Regions from separate parts of the Homo sapiens genome. Here regions 1, 3 and 4 are each linked to region 2. The links are contacts of gene promoters, found by promoter capture Hi-C in blood cells and fetal thymus (Javierre and others, 2016). All regions are on one chromosome and are shown on one strand. Each heading gives the region's core, a stretch centred on a gene start or on the middle of the fragment in contact. The rest is flanking DNA. Distances are from core to core; before and after follow the strand shown. Region 1 overlaps VPS4A (vacuolar protein sorting 4 homolog A). Region 2 holds the start of CHTF8 (chromosome transmission fidelity factor 8). Region 3 overlaps TANGO6 (transport and golgi organization 6 homolog). Region 4 overlaps SNTB2 (syntrophin beta 2).

Region 1 (4,385 bases), core at 788-3,287, 190 kb after region 2:
CAAGGTCAGGAAATCGAGAACATCCTGGCTAACACAGTGAAACCCCGTCTCACTAAAAATAAAAAAATTAGCCGGGCGTGGTGGTGGGCGCCTGCAGTCCCAGCTACTTGGGAGGCTGAGGCAGGAGAATGGCGTGAACCCGGGGGACGGAGCTTGCAGTGAGCCGAGATCGCGCCACTGCACTCCAGCCTGGGCGACAGAGCAAGACTCTGTCTCAAAAAAAAAAAAAAAGTCGAGAGTTGACATAAAAATTCAGAATTCTGACTTCTAGAAGATTAAATTAGGTAATGTTGGGCCTGCGTCCTCATGGGGCAGCCTGTCAGCGGCCACTAAGTAGAGGCTGCTCTGTACAGAAGGGGTCCCCCATCCCCACTCATCTGTGTTGCCTGCCCAGATAGCCCCATGGCCATTTCAGTTTGCGACCCCCAACAGACCAAGGACCCAGAGCTGGCAGCCCTGGACCCACGTCCGGCAGGCAGTGAAGCTGCAGAGGCTGTCCCACGTTTACCCCATGCATATAAACAGACCAAAGTCAAAGCACATTCACACAGAAAGACCTGGCCTAGTAAATGAAGCTTATAGCCTGCAAAGGGCTTTGTTCCAACCTTCCCTCTCCAAAACCCAGTACTGCTCCTCTACCTTTCAAACCTGGTTGGGCCAGAACTGATTACATGGCCAACTCTTGGCTCACACTGGGCTTGCACTGGGCCATTTCTTTGCTCTGGTTCAGAGCCTCTGCAGAAGTGAGCTAACTTTGGATCAGTAGCTCCAACACTTGGCTCCAGTGCTGGCAGGTTACCCCTCAACCATAGCAGCTGGGATCTTTGTGGCTTGGGGGTGCTTGTGTAAGTTCTTGGTTATGTGCCCTCAGCCACCAGGATATGAACCGTGTCTGCAGAGCTTCACTTTAGTGAGCTTACAAGTTTTTAAATTTTTACTTCTAGTTACATTTACTTGAATCAGAACGTTGTTTCCTCATTCCTACTGCTTAAACACCTTGACAAGTCCTAGGGGTTAACAAAGGTTAGCATGGCTATGGTCCATCCCTGTGCTCTAGTTAGAGCGTGAAGACACCTGACTTTCCAGTTGTCTCTCTCCATGACCAGCAACAGGAACCACTGACGCTGAACTTTGGACAGTGGCCTCAGACTCTGGCTGCCAGCACACAACCTGCCATCATCGATGTTAAACATGCTGACATGTGCAGAGGAGTTTCCTCCCTGAAATGCTCTGAAATTCACTTCTCTGCCTGGGGATTCTGTTATAAACCTTCTGCCTACATTGGCTTTCACTGTGGAAGTTGATTTCTAAAACTCTGATGAGCTCACAACGTTGACATGTATATGCGTTTTTTGTGAGTGCTTCCTGCTCAAAGTGGGAGAGATTTTACTGGAAATGCAATAAAGTTTGCATTTTATTGCTACCGATGCCCACCACAAAAGCGTTAACCTCAGAAAGCTATAAGAAGCATCAAAAGATTGCCATAGCCCCCTGTAAGAGCTTCTGAACATTGTCCAAATGAAAGGAGGCTCAGCTGAATTCTAATTTTCCTAAAGACCCATGTTTTTAGCATCTATGAGCTTTCTACAAATCTCCCCATTGGCTGCATCTCTGACCTTGCACCAGTATCTGGTTGGGATTCCCTTTTTTTTTTTTTTTTTTTTTTTTTGAGACAGAGCCTTGGTCTGTCGCCCAGGCTGGAGTACAGTGGCGAGATCTCAGCCCACTGCAACCTCTGCCTCCCAGGTTTGAGCGATTCTCCCGCCTCAGCCTCCCAAGTAGCTGTGATTACAGGCGCCTACCAGCACACCCAGCTAATTTTCATATTTTTAGTAGAAACAGTGTTTCGCCATGTTGGCCAGGCTGGTCTTGAACTCCTGACCTCAGGTGATCTGCCTGCCTTGACCTCCCAAAGTGCTGGGATTACAGGCATGAGCCACCAAGCCTGGCCGGGATTCCTTTTCAAAGTCTGGCTGCACCTAGAGCCAGTTTGCTTCTGCTTGGCCTCATGGGGCCTCAGAGAAAGCCACAAAGGAGGATGGGTCTTTCCTGGGTTCATTTAACTGCCATTTATAACACTTTTTCCTCTAAACAGCTTAATGGACTTCCTACTACTTGTATAGTTTGATTTTCAGGACTCTGTTCAGCAAGAATACCTACTTTACAAAACTCAGCATAAAAATGAGGTGAAACAGTTTAACTAAAACTGGAGTTTGGCTGGGTAGTGTGGCTCACAACTGATCCCAGCACTTTGGGAGGCCGAGGCAGGAGGATTGCCTGAGACCAGGAATTTGAGGCCAGCCTGGGCAACATAGTAAGACCCCCGTCTCTATCTTAAAAAAAAAATAAAAGAATAAAACAAGTTCCTTCACCTCTTGACAAGACAAAGCTGACACTTTTTTTTTTTGAGACAGAGAAAAAAAGAAAACTCTACAGCCAGAATCATACTTTTGAGTCTCGCTCTGTCGCCCAGGCTGGATGGAGTGCAGTGGCGTGATCTCAGCTCACTGTAACCTCCGCCTCCTGGGTTCAAGTAATTCTCTGCCTTGGCTTCACGAGTAGCTGGGATTACAGGTGCTCGCCACCACGCCCGGCTAATTTTTGTATCTTTAGTAGAGACAGGGTTTCACCATCTTGGCCAGGCTGGTCTTGAGCTCCTGACCTCGTGATCCACCCGCCCCGCCCTCCCAAAGTGCTGGGATTACAGGCGTGAACCACTGCACCTGGCCACTTTCTTAAACCTACACATTGGTTGCTGTGATATTAATTCTATTTTTACAAAATAAGTGTATAACCAGGAAGTACTAATCCTGCTTTCTATGCCCAATTGTTAACAGGAAAGGGCTCAGTGCACTTCTCAATTGTCACCCCTGCCCCCAGCCCTGATCCACGGCCTCTACCCCAAGAATGAGCCAAGAACCAGCTGCTCTAGGGATCTCAGCAGCAAAATCCTGCCCAAGGCTGTTAAAATGTGTGGGCACTCATTTACACTCGTGCTGTCATGAAACACATCCTTGAACAGGGACTATTCTCTTTCATTTCCATAAGCAAACTGGCGTCTAAGGCCACAAGCCCTCCGTAAAAATAAGAACTCGGCACAAATGGCCAGTCACATGCTTACCTGCATTTTTAAAGACAGCTTTCAGGTATTTGGGGACTACATTATTACCAAACCTTGGCTTTGGGAGATTATACAGGTCCGAGGAACTCGTGTCTACTGCAGACGAATGCAATTACCCCACCTTCCTCCATACAGAATTGTTAGGAAATGTCCACTCCTTTGGGGGTGATTTTTCTCCTCAAGTTGTAGCCAACATTTTGTCCGTAACTGATTTCAGGGCAAACATTTCTGACATCTTCCTCCAGCTCAGTCTGCCATGCCTTGGCAATCCAGTTTCCTGTCATATGCGAGCCATCCAAGTTGATGCCAAGTAAGATTTGCCCAGCTCAAAGTGAAAGTGTTTGCGTCTTGGTATCCGGAATCCTCAGCCCCAGTAGCAAAGCTTTAGTCATTCACCTTCATCCAATAGACGTTTGTGAACGTCCTGCTGTCCATTTTGTCAATAAACAGGCAGCCCTGCAGGTGGTCCATCTCGTGCTGGATGATGCGGGCTGCCCACCCGCTCGCCTGCCACACCACCTGTTCTCCATTGGGGTCCAGCCCTGCAAAGGAAGTTACAGCCCTGGTGAGTGGGAACAGCTGAACTGCATCATCCTCAACCTCCCTACCCCTGCCCCCGGTCCTGGCTGTTCCCATTGACAAGAGGCAACAGCAGATGGCAAATGTAGACAGCAGCTCCTCTTCTAACTGGAAAACGTCCCTCATCTCGGTCCATTACCAAGCGTTCAACCTGGTTCCCAACTCTGGTAATTAGGTTATCGAGCTCACTGTAGAGCTGAGATGAGAAATCATCTTTCTACGGTGCGACCCTTCCGAACACTCCTCCCACTTCTGAGGTACCTGTGGGCTCCCAACTCCTAACAGAGGTTCTGCAGCTTGAGACCCCACTTGTTTTTCTGACCATCTTGAACCGACGGGCTTGCTGTGCAGGAACAATCACCCCGACCCCAGCAGAGCCCGCATTCCGCGAGGCATCCTGTGGTACCACGGGGGAATGGCCTAGCCCCCTGGGCTGGGTCAGGCTGGCGGGGGCTAACCCCCACTTCTCCAACTCCACCGTGGCGGATCTAACTGGGGCCGAAGAGCGTGTTTGCCTCAGAGAGCAAGGGAGCAGAAAGCAGACGCCAGGCTGTCAGGTAACAGCGGAACTAGGGGACCTCTCCTCGCCCCTGCGTCCTATCTGAGCGGGCTCTACCCCACAGGAGCTTCTATCCGTCCTGAGGCCTCTCCGCTCCCGCATCCCACTTCGCTCCTGCGGGAGGTC
Region 2 (4,436 bases), core at 1,189-3,688:
TCCTCATAATCCTTCAAAATAAAATGTGGCAGAAGAAAGTGTGATATGTATCCAATTAAACCGAACATATGGCTTATAGCAAAAAAGAGGCTTTGACTCAACGGTTTAACCTCAATACAAATAACTAAATTTTAATAAAGCTAAACAACGTTTTAGAAATTTTGTTTTTTTTTCAAACAGGAAACCAAGCCTTTAAATTCTCAACCCTTAAACATTCTTTTCTAAACTGGGGTGAAATCAATTATTTCAGAGTGTAAATATTCACAATTTTCTATTTTTTGCTAGGCCAACAGTTGGCATTTATTGAGCTTTTGTTTTTTGATCCCAGGGTGGATACTTTGTTTACGAATATAGTGAAGCACTCACTTGTCATACAGACCTGGATTCTGTGATTTTGCCACCTATCCCATATGTGACAGTGGGTAGTTTAACCTCACGTGTTTTCCTAACAATACACTGGGCATAAACACCTATTTTGAAAGGCTGTTGCAAGAACGAGTAATGAATGTAAAGCTTTTAGCACATTGTCTGACACATGGTAAGCCTTCAGGGTCAAGCTATCGATTTCCCAGAGAAAGGTGGCATTTTCTTAGTATTCATCAAATAGAATGTCTTAATACTACACTGTGTTAGCATATTAATGTTTATAACGGACTAAAGCATTCTACGAAAGCAGCAGGTCATCAGAATAAAATCAAGTTTTCATAACAGTAGAATTCAAACATGGCAGTTGTGGTTCACCAAACTGCTTCAGGGATTAAGTTCTGGAAGGTAATTTCTCTAAATATGATGACTATGTCTCTATGTGCCTTTCTACCAAGTGAACAACTCAGAACGTTTTACATACAACCGAATACAGATTATTTTTATTTGTAGTGTTATCGTGGTTTTGTAACTGAAGGGGACAGGTCTATACTTTTGAAGGGGATCTTGTCTCTTGAAAGGCTTATGTTACTAAGTCTAAAATCCTGTTTCCAAATGAGAATCTTGCTCCCCTCCAAAAAGGGGCTTATGGAGGGTTGGTGGAATTGAATGCTTCCAAACTTTACATTAGTGAAGTGTGTTCAAAAACGTGTGTGGATGCTATGCATACACGTGATACTTCCCATCACATTTTAGGATTCCCACGTTGGAGGGAATCAATTACTGGTATTTGTAGCAATGGGTGGAAAAGATGGCTTCAGTCGATCTGAGTTACTGCAGTTTTCTCCATCTTCTGCTACTCTGCAGCCCCATCTTAGCCTGTCCTCCTCTTAATGGTACGGCCCCCTGTACTCCCCCAAACCCTTTCCTTTCTAGCCCGGCGTAGAGTCTCCCTCTGTGCTCTTCCTCCCACCCACCCCCATCTTCTCCACCCACTCCCTCTCGGCCCCCTCCCACCCTTTCTGCTAGAGCTACAAACACTTCCTATTTCTAGTCCCACCCACTTTCTGGGACTTCTCAATCCGCTTCCCCCCTCTTCTCCACCCCCCTCCAAATTACAAGCTGTTTTAACCCCTTTTCCTGCCTCCCAGGGAAACTATTCTTTAAACCGCCTTCCTCCACACCACCCACTGGAGTGGTCTTCCAAACCGTTCACCCTCTTCCCAAAGATTACTCTTTAAACGTCCTTTCTCTACCACCCTCGTTCTCCAAATTGTTCCCGGTTCTCAAGTACTCCACTCCTCCAGGACCCCACCCCACTCGTCTCTCGGCTTCCCTCCCACAAAAGAACCTGGAATGACTCTCCAACCACCCTTCCAATTACCTCTCCCAGAAGCCTCCCCCCTCCACGATTACAAATGTTACCTGGAACAAAACCTCACGGTCCTAACCCCCACCCCGAACTCCCCTTTCTGCTCTTCCCGCTACTTCCTAGGTTCCAGTTCTACTCCGCTCCCGCAAGCATAGCGGGCTGGGCTCCCTCCCAACCCCGGGAAGAGCCCCTTCCCGCACGTACCTCGAGATTCCGGCCCTCGCCGCCCCCTTCTCCGTCCTCCGCCCGCGCTCGGCCACCCTTTCCGCCCTTCTCCCGCTCCGCCCCGCTCGCTCCCTTCCTTCCCTCCGCCTTCCGTCTCCACACCGCTCCCTTCCCCCACACTCCTGGCCCTCCCACCCCGGAGGCCCCTCCGGGCTTGCCCCCACCTCCGCGCCGCCCTCCCGCCGCCCTCCCCCTTCCCGGCCACCCCTCCCCCGCCCGCGCTCCCCGCCCCTCGGCTCGCCATTCTTCTCTCCGAGCCGCGCGCCCCGCCCGGCCCCGGCTCCCTAGCTTCCCGCTCCCTCGCGCCCTCGCCCCCAATCCCGGCTCGGCCCTCGCTCCCCGCAGCCTCCCGTGCCCCCCGCCCGCGGCCTGACCTGCAATGGCGGCCGCCGAGCGCGGCGCCGCGCGGCCAACGGGCGACAACCGAACCTCCCGCCGCCGTCGCCGCCGCCGCGAGCACTGCCTGCGCACTTCCGACTATGCGCCAGGAGCACTTCCGGGGCAGAGCCTGAGAGCGCGCGCGCACGTGGGGCCGGGGCGGAGAGAGGCGAGCACCGGGAAGGGGAGCGTGGGGCCGCTGGTGAGTTGGGGAAGGGGCGTGGGAAGCGGCTGCGAGAGCTGGGGGGGTCTTACAAGGTGGCCGGCCCAGGGTCGGCGTCCGGCTGAGCTCCTTGTCCCGAGGGTCTCCTTGTCCCGAGGCGGGGTGGGGGCTACTCTGTAGACTCGGGGAGAGGGAAGGGGAGGCGAAGACCGCGCGCGCCTCAGACGCCCCGGCCCGACCGAACGCGCTTGCTCTGTCTGCGGGTTCCTAACCTTGAAGCTAGGCCAGTGAGGGGCGAACAAGACCTGGTCTCTACTCTCGGCCAGTATATATGTTGGCGGGCGTCGGGGGGACGGGGTAGGGTAAGTGACAGACGTCAGACCAGGCAGCCAGATTAAGTCAAACCCTGTCGTTTCTTCCTCAAGAGGAGCTCGGTTCTGCCTGCCCCATCAGCCTCACTGTCACTACCTCAGTTTAGGTCTGTTGTTTGCAAACTTAGCAATAGAGTTGAGGAGAGATGCTTGCTAAAATGCGGATTCCTAGGCGCCCCGAGATAGGAACTCTGGAGCTATGGAGTAGGACCCTTTTTGATTTTTTGCTGAAGCCTCCTTATTATTCAAGCCATTCTGAGCTTTTGAAGATTGAGTAATTCTTGTGGGGGGCATTGTTAGCAGCCATTTGGAAATGAACTTCAGGGAGATGTTGTTGGAGCCTTCCAGCCAGAACAGTGATATTAAGGAACTGAATACTATATGTGACATACTGCAGTTAACATATAGCAATAATGACTCTCTTTTCGCCCCCTAGGAATGGGTGAATTTAAGGTCCATCGAGTACGTTTCTTTAATTATGTTCCATCAGGAATCCGCTGTGTGGCTTACAATAACCAGTCAAACAGATTGGCTGTTTCACGAACAGATGGCACTGTGGAAATTTATAACTTGTCAGCAAACTACTTTCAGGAGAAAGTAAGTCATTTGGGAGTCTGATATGGTGTTTTGATGTTAATTTCTTCTGAAGTTCAAGAAGCTTGTATGTCTTTTATAATCAAACTGATTGAGTGACTTCCTAGCCCCTCTGAAGTTGCTTAGAACTACCAAACTTCTGAGATCTCCTAACTGATAAGAGAAGCTCAGTTTCAATCTGTGTAATGTTGATTAGAAGGGTCCTACCTAGAAATGTGACATCTCACTGCCTGTCATTGGAAACTGAGGTTTGCTGGATCTTTTGGACACAGGAAGGGAAATTGTTGGTATATCAGTCTCAACACCATTGCAGCTTTGGTAAGCAAAATTTCCTGCAGGGAGTATCAGTACTGTTTCATTGTCAATTCAGAAAAAATGATAACACGTTTTAATATCAGAAACTTTTTGGTGATGTGGGAAGATGGATTCCAAAGTTCATCTGTCTGAGAGAATGTAGACCTACATGTCTACATTTGGGAGTAAAGGAGATTTAAAATTAGGTAAAATGTCCTTTGGGTGTATGCAGAGGTCTATTAGTCCTTTTTCTTCTCCCCTCCAAGGGCACTGACTAGTGATTTTCTTCGGGTGCAACATCTTAGTTCATGTTGAATGACTGTTATGTACTGGGTGCTGTGATATAAATGAGTAGATGGGCAAATGAGTGAATTCAGTGCCCAGCAGCCTGGTACCTGGAATTTAGGCATTCTGTAAATGTTTCTCGGTGAATGAGTGGCAAATACTGGGCACTAAGACAAATGTCAGAGGCCCTAACTTTACGGAGCTCAAAGACCAGTGGGAGAAAGATAAGTGTACAGTTTCCAACCTGTAAAATAAATATGATAAACCGAAACACAGGCATAGAACCTTCATTGAATTGCCTTCAGGGAAGGCAATTCAGAGAATTGCCTTCCCTGAGAGGTGGGTTTAGGAAATGTGGAAAGGGATGATTTACTGAGCTCACCCCTGAAGA
Region 3 (4,440 bases), core at 82-2,581, 210 kb before region 2:
ATGTTTAAAAAAAAAACACTGAACATCACATCTGCATGGTAAGTAGCAGTTGTTCTGGATGGTTCTTGCTATCATGATGTAGATGAAGAAGATGAGGATGTAGACATAAGATGTAAGGAGAATTATGATTTTTTTTTTTCATTCCTCATTGATTCTCAATTCCCTTTTTTGGGTAGGTGGTGGACTTTGTAGCAGCAACATTGCAGAGAGCCTGTGCAAGCCTGGCCCATCAGGCAGAGAGCACCGTGGAATCACAGACGCTGAGCATGTCCATGGGGCTGGTGGCTGTCATGCTAGGAGGAGCTGTTCAGGTGAGTTGTAGACATGAGGCAAGCTTGAATGGAGGGAAGGGAGAAGCGAAATACCAGTTGTTTTCCTTCCATATCCTTGTGAGAAATAAGAATGGATATTGTACATAGGAGAACCTAGATAAAGAAGTTAGTTTGTTAATGAGAATTCTCTCCAAAGTAGAGAACAAGAAAGTTGCACCATTTCTACTCTGTCACCTGCATAGACTTCACTATCAGAAGGGCAGGGTCCTTTCTACCTGTTACAATCTTAATTTGGGAACATCTAGCCTGGTGTTTTGCATCTGAGGTGAATACTAGATTTTCTGGCTCTCACTCTCCAAAGCTCAGCCCTTGTTTCTGCTACTGTTGTTGGGGAAAGTCCTCAACTGGTTGCATAGGATCCATCTATTTTGAATGCTCCATTTTAGCACAGGATTCATTCTTCATCCCTTATCAGGTAGCATGTTAAAGCTTTGCTTCCAGCCACTTTTAAGTATGTATGTCTTTTACATACCTAATTTATAATTTTTAAATTTATTTTTTTAAACACTACATATTGGCCGGGTGCGGTGGCTCACTGAGCCTGTAATCCCAGCACTTTGGGAGGCTGAGTTTGGTGGATCACCTGAGGTGAGGAGTTTGAGACCAGCCTGGTCAACATGGTGAAACCCCGTCTCTACTAAAAATATTTAAAAAAAATTAGCTGGGCGTGGTGGCGGGTGCCTGTAATCCCAGCTACTCGGGAGGCTGAGGCAGGAAAATTGCTTGAACCCAGGAGCCGGAGGTTGCAGTGAGCCGAAATCGTGCCATTGCACTCCAGCCTGGGTGACAAGAGCTAAACTCCATCTCAAAAAAAATTAAACAAACAAAACCTACATATTGCATACTTGTGTGCCACACATACTAAGCTAGGGTGCTGGGAATACAGCAGGGGACAGGGCAGACCGTCATGAAACTTGCAGTCCAGTAAGGAAGTCAGACACTAAATGACTGTTCAGAAATGTACTTAGAATTGAATGAAGGGTCTCAAAAGAGAAGTGGCGGGTACCAAGAGCACATAACATCTAACCTAGGCTGGGAAGATTTCCACTGAGGAAGTGTAAGCGTAAGCTAAGATTTGAAGGAAACTCTTCCAAGTAAGGAAAACATCACGTACAAAGGCTTAGAAGCAGCAAAGAGCTTGGTATACTTGAGACACTGATGGAAGGCTGGTGTTAGTGAATTGTAGAGACCAAGGGGAAGAGCATGCCTGCAAGGACAAAAGATAGTCAAGGGCTAGACCATGCATGTGTGTGTGACTGGCTGATTACATACCGAGTTAGGTGAGGAGTCTGCAGGAAAGCAGAATAGGCTTAGTGTGAGTCTTATGAAATCTACCCTGCAGCCAGCCTGCTCATAACCCTTAGCAATGAGTAGGATACCCTCTGGGAATGGATTTTTGAGCTTGAGGATTCAAATCTGATTCTGATTCTCGATGTATTAGAATATACCTTTCACTAGCCTGTCTAAAAGGAAAGGGAATTTTATCTGGGCCTGTTATTAGTGTGAAGCCCATTTCTTTAGATTTACTTAGCACTTCTAATTATATATTTTCCATATTGTTTTAAAAAAAAAGCTTTTGGTTCAGTTTCTAGAGCCATAGTATACCCTTGCTGTTAGAACTGTCAAGGTTTGGGAGGCCGAGGTGGGCGGATCAGGAGGTCAGGAGATCGAGACCATCCTGGCTAACACAGTGAAACTCCGTCTCTACTAAAAATACAAAAAAAAGGTGGCGGGTGCCTGTAGTCCCAGCTACTCGGGAGGCTGAGGCAGGAGAATGGCGTGAACCTGGGAGGCGGAGGTTGCAGTGGGCGGAGGTTGCAGTGAGCCGAGATCGCGCCACTGCACTCCAGCCTGGGCAACAGAGCGAGACTCTGTCTCAAAAAAAAAAAAAAAAAAAAGAACTATCAAGGAAAGTTTCACTGATGGAATCATTTTTCTTTTTTCTTTTCTTTTTTTTTTTCAGACAGAGTCTTACTCTGTCACCCAGACTGGAATGCAGTGGCACAATCTCAGCTCACTGCAGCCTCCACCTCCTGGGTTCAAGCAATTCTCCTGCCTCAGCCTCCCAAGTAGCTGGGATTACAGGCATGCACCACCACGCCCAGCTAATTTTTTGTATTTATAGTAGAGACAGGGTTTTGCCATGTTGGCCAGGCTGGTCTCGAACCCCTGACCTCAAGTGATTCACCCGCCTCGGCCTCCCAAAGTGTTACAGGCATGAGCCACCACGCTCGGCCGGAATCATTTTTCTTAAGTTGTATTCTTATTGGATTTAGTTGGCCAAATAGATTTTTGTTTTGTTTTGTTTTGTTTTTTTTTGGTTGAATATTGATTTGAATAGTCTTTTTCCACAAGGTGAGAGTGTGCTTTTTTTTTTTTTTTTTTTTTTGGCTTCTCTTTACTTCACACTTATCATTTCAAACCACATCCCAATGTAAGATAGATCACAAAAATCTCCATTTCCCTTTCTAGAAGCCCATTGTTGGAGGGCTGGCTGTGCACATTAGTTGTGTTCTAAGACAGACTCACCTGACTGATATCAAGGTTATACCTTGCAGGCCCCTGCCTTTCTGTGAGCCATCCTGACTCACTGATTACATCCGGCATTCCTCTGACTTTGCAGTTAGTTAAGTGAACATAAGCACGTCACCCCCTATACCTTTGCCCTAGATCTACTACTTTTTTTCTGTTTGAATCATGGATTTGTAAATGGCTTCTATAGTAATGCTGGATTTTCTTTCTTTGTATTAGAAAAAAATGTCATGGTTCTGAATTGTGTTTTCAGTTAATCATTGTCAGGCTAACAATATACTGTTTTTTCCTATTTCTTACTAGGATTCGTTGTTTTGGCTTATTAAAAAAGAATCTAACATCATCTGAACCTTTTTTGTTTCTAATTTATGTAATCAAAGTGATTATTAGAACATTGTGTCTGGGAAGAGGAGTTAATTTGGAAAAAGCATGTATTTAAGACTGCTGACAACAACAACAAAAACAAAATTAAAAAAAAAAAAAGGCCGGGCGCGGTGGCTTATGCCTGTAATCCTAGGACTTCGGGAGGCCAAGTCGGGTGGATCACGAGGTCAGGAGTTCAAGACCAGCCTGGCAAACATGGTGAAACCCCATCTCTACTAAAAATACAAAAATCAGCCGGGCTTGGTGGCGCGTGCCTATAATCCCAGCTACTTGGGAGGCTGAGGCAGGAGAATCGCTTGAACCCAGGAGGGGGAGGTTGCGGTGAGCGGAGACCATGCCACTGCACTCCAGCCTGGCAACAGAGCAAGACTCCATCTCAAAACAAACAAACAAAAATTTATAATTAAAAAAAAAAAGACTGCTGACAAGATAACTGTAGTTCCAGGCTCATTTTCTAAATTTCAGAGTTAGTCACCACTAAAAGTATTATACATTGGTTACTCCTCCCTGTCCCCTCAAGAAGCAGTTTCTGCATGATGTTGTATTGTCCATTGGTCTCTAAAGCACGAGGCTGAGCAGACCATTCCAGACCTTCTTTAGGAAAAACCAAAACCATGTTGTTCCAGGGAGGCAGCAGAGCTTCTGGTTAAAAGCTGGGCTCCAAATCTTGAAATCTAGATTCTACTGGGGTGGGGGCCCATTATTGGGAGAGAAAAGGTGCATCTCTTCTCTAAAGGGGAAGGGGGCTTTAGCTTGGTCTTACTCTACACTGCTTAGGTCATGTTTTTTTTTTTTTTTTTTTTTTTTTTTGAGATGGAGTTTCGCTCGTTGCCCAGGCTGGGGTGCAATGGCACGATCTCGGCTCACCGCAACCTCCGCCCGCTGGGTTCAAGCGATTCTCCTGCCTCAGCCTCCCAAGTAGCTGGGATTACGGTCATGCACCACCACGCCCGGCTCATTTTGTATTTTTTTTTTTTTTGTAGTAGAGATGGGGTTTCTCCATGTCGGTCAGGCTAGTCCCGAACTCCTGACCTCAGGTGATCTGCCCGCTTCCGCCTCCCAAAGCGCCGGGATTACAGGCATGAGCCACCGCGCCTGGCCTGCTTAGGTCATGTTTTTGATCAAAGACCATTGCTCAGACTCTTTGGCAGAAAGGTTACCAGGAGCATGGACTGTGTTTTAGGTGCTGCTG
Region 4 (4,661 bases), core at 615-3,114, 170 kb after region 2:
AATGGCTCATTGTTTTCTTTTTTTTTCATTGTTTTCATTTTTAGACATAATCAAATACCCAAGCATTGTTTTCTTTTTCTTCTCCCTGTAGGATTTGTGTTGTGCTTAGCCTTGATCTCTTGTTCAGAACAATTGTCCCTTCCCAGGTGCTAGCTTGCAGCAGCCTGTTGCTTCCTGAGCATTCCAGATAGGTCGTATGTCTTGGAATTTACTGTCCTCACTAGCTCCTTCCACCATAGGAAGTCCTTGAATTGTATCACCAAAGGGTTGTTCCATTTGCCCTGGATCTCCCTCTATCTCAGCCTGGCCATCACTTCCCACCTTATCCCAAGCTTTGCCACTGTCTCTAGGACTTAGAACTTGTAAATTTGATTTGCCTTGCCTTCTACTTCCTTTCTAGTGGTGACTGAGTTGAAAAGCAAGTTGGAAGCCACTGCTTTTAAAGAAAAGTTTTGCTTGGTTTAGGTTTTTCCAATTTTATTTTTGTTAGGAGCCAGGGGATAAGATTTATTTTAAATGAAAATCCTCTTCCTAGGTTAAGCCATTTTTTTTATTGCTTACCAAATGTGCCTTTGGTTAGGGTTAGTGGAGCTTTATTAGTCACTATTTGAATAACTGGAAATCACTGCCATTTCCAGGAGATCACCTATCCTAGTTTTGAGGAATAGTCATTGAGGTGGGTTTCCTTAATGGCATCTCTTCTAGTAGGCAGATCTGTTTGAACAAGATAAATCCTAAAGAGCCAGCCTGCTTGAGGAGTAGACTTGGTGGGTGAAGCCAGCAATTCCGCACAAACGTCATGTTGAATTGTTTTGGGCTGCCCAAAAACAACAGGATGCAGCATCCTGGCTGTGGCCTGGCCCTTTGTGGCAGCAGTGGCATGGACAAGCAACTGCTAATTCGAGACTTACTATTGGCTTCACAGCACACCCTACAGTGAGCAGGGTGATGAGACCGTGGAACAGCTACCTGCTTTTGGTTAAGATTGCCAGATATCATTAGGACACAGTAGCAGCAAGAATGCTGATTTTGTAGTGTTAGAAAATGAACTCAGCTTGTTTTTCCTAATTTTGAAGGTGGTATATATCTGCAAACATTTAAAATGGTATAATATCATATAAAATGTCAAAATTAGCACAGTCCCTGGATCTCAAAGAATAGGTAATATTGACTTGGATGTTCTTTATGCTCTCTGAAGAAAGGTCTAGGGAAAGTTCTTGTTTGCTTGATTGATCAAGAGTGCCACGGAAGAATGTGAGCGCTGTGGAGGGTGGAGGAGGGTGTCACTTCAGATGGGGCAGGCACAGGGGGAGAAAAGAAGAGAAAAACACACCTGTGTGCAAAATGAGCTATTTGGTTTCAGTGCGGCCTGACCGATGGGGAGGACCCATGAGCAGAGAGAGTTCTAGGTCAACATTGTAACTCCATTGTCCTCCTTCACCCATAAGTCAGTCCTCCTTCCTCATTACAGTGAAACCAACAATATGCAGAGGTTGGGGAGAGATGCCTGTTCTTCCCCCAGCTTCATATAATTGTCAAAGTTCCAAAAATGAATTATCTGAACTGCTTAAAACTGGAAATTAAAATCTAGACAAGAATATGTCTTTCAAGAGCTTTTTATGTTTTGAAAGTTCATAAACCTAAGATTGGCTCCATCTGAGATAAATTTTCTTTTCTTTTTTTTTTTGAGACGGAGTCTCGTTCTGTCTCCCAGGCTGGAGTGCAGTGGCATGATCTCGGCTCACTGCAACCTCCACCTCCTAGGTTCAAGTGATTCTCCTGAGTAGCTGGGGTTATAGCTACCCACCACCACACCCAGCTAATTTTTGTATTTTTAGTAGAGGCAGGTTTTCACCATGTTGGCTAGGCTGGTCTTGAACTCCCGACCTCAAGTGATCCACCTGCCTTGGCCTCCCAAAGTGCTGGGATTATAGGTGTGAGCCCCCGTGCCTGGCCCACAATAAATTTTCATTTCAGAGAAGGAAAAAAATCTCTTGAACGTCCAGAAATGATTTCTGGAATCAGAATTTCAATATGTAATACCCTCAGGTAGGCAATCTTGAACCCTCTATGCAGTGAGAGCATTATTAATATGAGATGTTGAATGATGCCTTTACAGACTTCAGCAGCAAAGCCATTTGGTTGAGGTTTTCTGTGTTAATGTGAAAAGCTAAGCCACTGAGATTTGCAGGGGAGCTTCTGAGCCACCCTGCTTGTTGGTTATATGAGGATGTAAAATAGGTGGAATTAAAATGTGAGCAGGAAAGGCAAGGCATGTGTGCATTTTCACTCATTTTGGTCAAGGTTAAACTGACATGTATAGCACTGAGGTCTGTAGGGTTCTTAATATCTTTTGAGTCTTGCTGTGAAATGAAAGTGTGGGAGGTTTCCTTTGTCCATTAGCAGCCCCAAGAACCAGAACCCTTTTGCTGCTTTTCTTACATACCTAACAGCTCTCCAGTCATGATGACCAAGGTTGTTCTTCAATCAAATGTGTTTGTGGGATTTTCAGTCCGCAAATGAAGTGCTCTCTAATGAATGGGACACCATGATAAATATGTATTTATATTTAGATGCCAAAGTATGGCAAATTATTTCCAAATGATAACTACAAATGGGAATTTTCGATATTCTACCTTTTTTATAGAACCAGCTCACTTTTCATTTCTTTTTCATTTTGAATTAAGAAAATTGTTGAGGATGTGGTGGGTTCCAGTGTGTGGAATGGAAAGGAAACTGCAGAATAGTGTCTGCTCCCCATTCAGAGGGACTGCTTCCTGTGCCCCCCAGACCCGGGGCTTCGACAGCTTCTCCACATTCCACACAGATGCCTAGGAGCAGCGAGTTGGTATATGAAAAGTCTCCCACCTTTTCTCCTAAAACTTCTCTCCTTTCTCTCCATAAAAAGAAAAGGAAAGGAACAAAAGAAAAACATTCAGTTTTTCTTTTTCTGAAAAAGGTAAGTCCTTTCCTGAAGTCATCAAATGAAACATTATCTGGAAATTAGTTTCTAATGTTGTATATGAAGAAATACTTAAATATAAGTTCCTGCAGTATTTATTAGATAGTTGTAACTGTAAACTCACCTCCCTAGTAGATAAGAGTTTCAGGTTAAATACTGGAACATATATAGGCAGTCAAAAATACTACTTTAAATGTCATTCACCTATTTTAAAGCCATGTTTTAGCACTTTTTAGGCCAAAGAAGGTCTGATAGTGCCTGTTTTTATGTTCTGTACTCTCACAAACTTTGTTACTCAAAATTATTGCATGGCAGGAGAGATTGGATTATTTATTTCTTATATTTTTATAAGTAAAAAAATCTTTCTAAACAACAAATACCTAACATTATTACTGATTGTTTTCCTAATTTATCCTCCTAAGTTGAATGGTAACAAAGCTTTTCCAGCTGAATGAATGCACTTAGCTGATAAACCAGAATTTGTTCTTTTTTTTCCTTCTTTTTTTTTTGAGACAGGTTCTCACTCTGTCACCGAGGTTGGAGTGCAGTGGTATGATCATAGCTGACTGCAGCCTCAACCTTCTGGGCTCAAATGATCCTTTCACCTCAGCCTCCTGAGTAGCTGGGACCACAGGTGTGTGCCACCACACCTGGCTAATTTTTATGGATTTTTTTTTCTTTTTTTTTTTTCGCCATGTTGCCCAGGCTGGTCTTGAACTCTTGGCACTCAAGCAGTCCTTCTGCCTCAGCCTCCCAAAGTGCTGGGATTACAGATGTGAGCCACTGCACCTGGCCCCAGAAATTATGCTTAAAAAAAAAATTAAGCTGTGTGGAATCTGGACAAGGCTATGTTTCTCCTAGAAACAGGTTTTGCTGTAAATGGTTTTGATGGGCGAAAGTGTGAGAAAAGGTTATAATAGATTCTTTTTTTTAATTTTGTGAGAAATTCCAGGTCTTCTTGCTTAACTTATATGCATGTGGATATATTTGTTTTCAAAGCCATGGAAGAATCTCTGTTCATATATTTTAATGCAAATTACCTTGTATGCTGCTATGCAAATTCTATTAAAAGGCCTACCTGCTTAAGAATTAAACATTTTTGAAACTTTCAGGGAAGACCTGTAGACTCAAGCACTTTCTCTGCTTTTTTGTATCTTATCTTGGACACTTATGCTGAATTATGTTCTTATTATTTTCACTGGTTATAAGCTATTCCTTGTACATAATATTTAAACTATCCAAATATCCAGCATACATTTCCATGTGGCTGCCATCGGCTGTTGATGCCATGAATGAAATGGCTGGTTAGAAAGCCAAAGGTCTTCTTTTTTCAATTCCTAATGAATAAGTAAAATGCCAGATCTCTTTGGTCTCAAAGCAAATTGCTCTGATCAGATCAAATATCTATGTAATGAAAAGAGACTTACTTAAATTTGGGATTCTGCTTAAACTTTAAGTTGAATTTGACTGTAGTCATTCATTCTTTTTATATATCTCTGTCAGGTATGACATTAATTACCAGGTGGTATTATACTCTACTTTGAGTTTGGACATCACTTTCAGTTAAATTTCTGTTGTTATTGTGGCTTTTTTTTTTTTTTAACCCCACTGAAGATGGAAGTAGAGCAGTCTGCCATCTCCTGCTGTTCTTTCTCTGTGCCCCCTAATTGCTTGGTAATCTAAAATTATTCTGACTTTC

What was found. Contacts are between HindIII fragments. The CHiCAGO score rates a contact against its expected background, and 5 or more counts as called.
Region 1: a fragment that was not itself captured here is called in contact with the fragment with the promoter of CHTF8 in region 2 in 1 of 17 cell types (endothelial precursors); the score reaches 6.1 in endothelial precursors.
Region 3: a contact is called between a fragment that was not itself captured here and the fragment with the promoter of CHTF8 in region 2, in 1 of 17 cell types (endothelial precursors). The highest score is 5.2, in endothelial precursors.
Region 4: a contact is called between a fragment that was not itself captured here and the fragment with the promoter of CHTF8 in region 2, in 14 of 17 cell types (endothelial precursors, M2 macrophages, megakaryocytes and 11 more). The highest score is 10.2, in endothelial precursors.

Annotation. Positions count from the first base shown.
Region 1 is chr16:69,325,517-69,329,901 of GRCh38, forward strand. VPS4A (vacuolar protein sorting 4 homolog A) reads left to right here. Exons shown (of 11, transcript NM_013245.3): 11 at 1-1,423. It overlaps COG8 (component of oligomeric golgi complex 8), which reads right to left. Exons shown (of 6, transcript NM_032382.5): 6 at 912-3,663. PDF (peptide deformylase, mitochondrial) reads right to left here. Exons shown (of 2, transcript NM_022341.2): 2 at 1,397-3,663. The coding sequence ends at 3,506. Among named protein-coding and RNA genes, the nearest start is that of PDF, 2.9 kb to the right of the region's middle. The HindIII fragment of the contact is 2,928 bases long and covers 574-3,501 here.
Region 2 is chr16:69,130,150-69,134,585 of GRCh38, forward strand. CHTF8 (chromosome transmission fidelity factor 8) reads right to left here and starts at 2,439. Exons shown (of 4, transcript NM_001039690.5): 1 at 2,335-2,439. It overlaps DERPC (DERPC proline and glycine rich nuclear protein), which reads right to left and starts at 2,439. Exons shown (of 3, transcript NM_001002847.4): 1 at 2,335-2,439. UTP4 (UTP4 small subunit processome component) reads left to right here and starts at 2,500. Exons shown (of 17, transcript NM_032830.3): 1 at 2,500-2,540; 2 at 3,309-3,469. The coding sequence starts at 3,311. RefSeq lists silencers at 2,019-2,168, 2,189-2,548. The HindIII fragment of the contact is 3,017 bases long and covers 512-3,528 here.
Region 3 is chr16:68,918,909-68,923,348 of GRCh38, forward strand. It overlaps TANGO6 (transport and golgi organization 6 homolog), which reads left to right. Exons shown (of 18, transcript NM_024562.2): 12 at 177-311. Among named protein-coding and RNA genes, the nearest start is that of TANGO6, 78 kb to the left of the region's middle. The HindIII fragment of the contact is 1,144 bases long and covers 760-1,903 here.
Region 4 is chr16:69,301,211-69,305,871 of GRCh38, forward strand. It overlaps SNTB2 (syntrophin beta 2), which reads left to right. Exons shown (of 7, transcript NM_006750.4): 7 at 1-4,661. Among named protein-coding and RNA genes, the nearest start is that of VPS4A, 7.8 kb to the right of the region's middle. The HindIII fragment of the contact is 3,068 bases long and covers 331-3,398 here.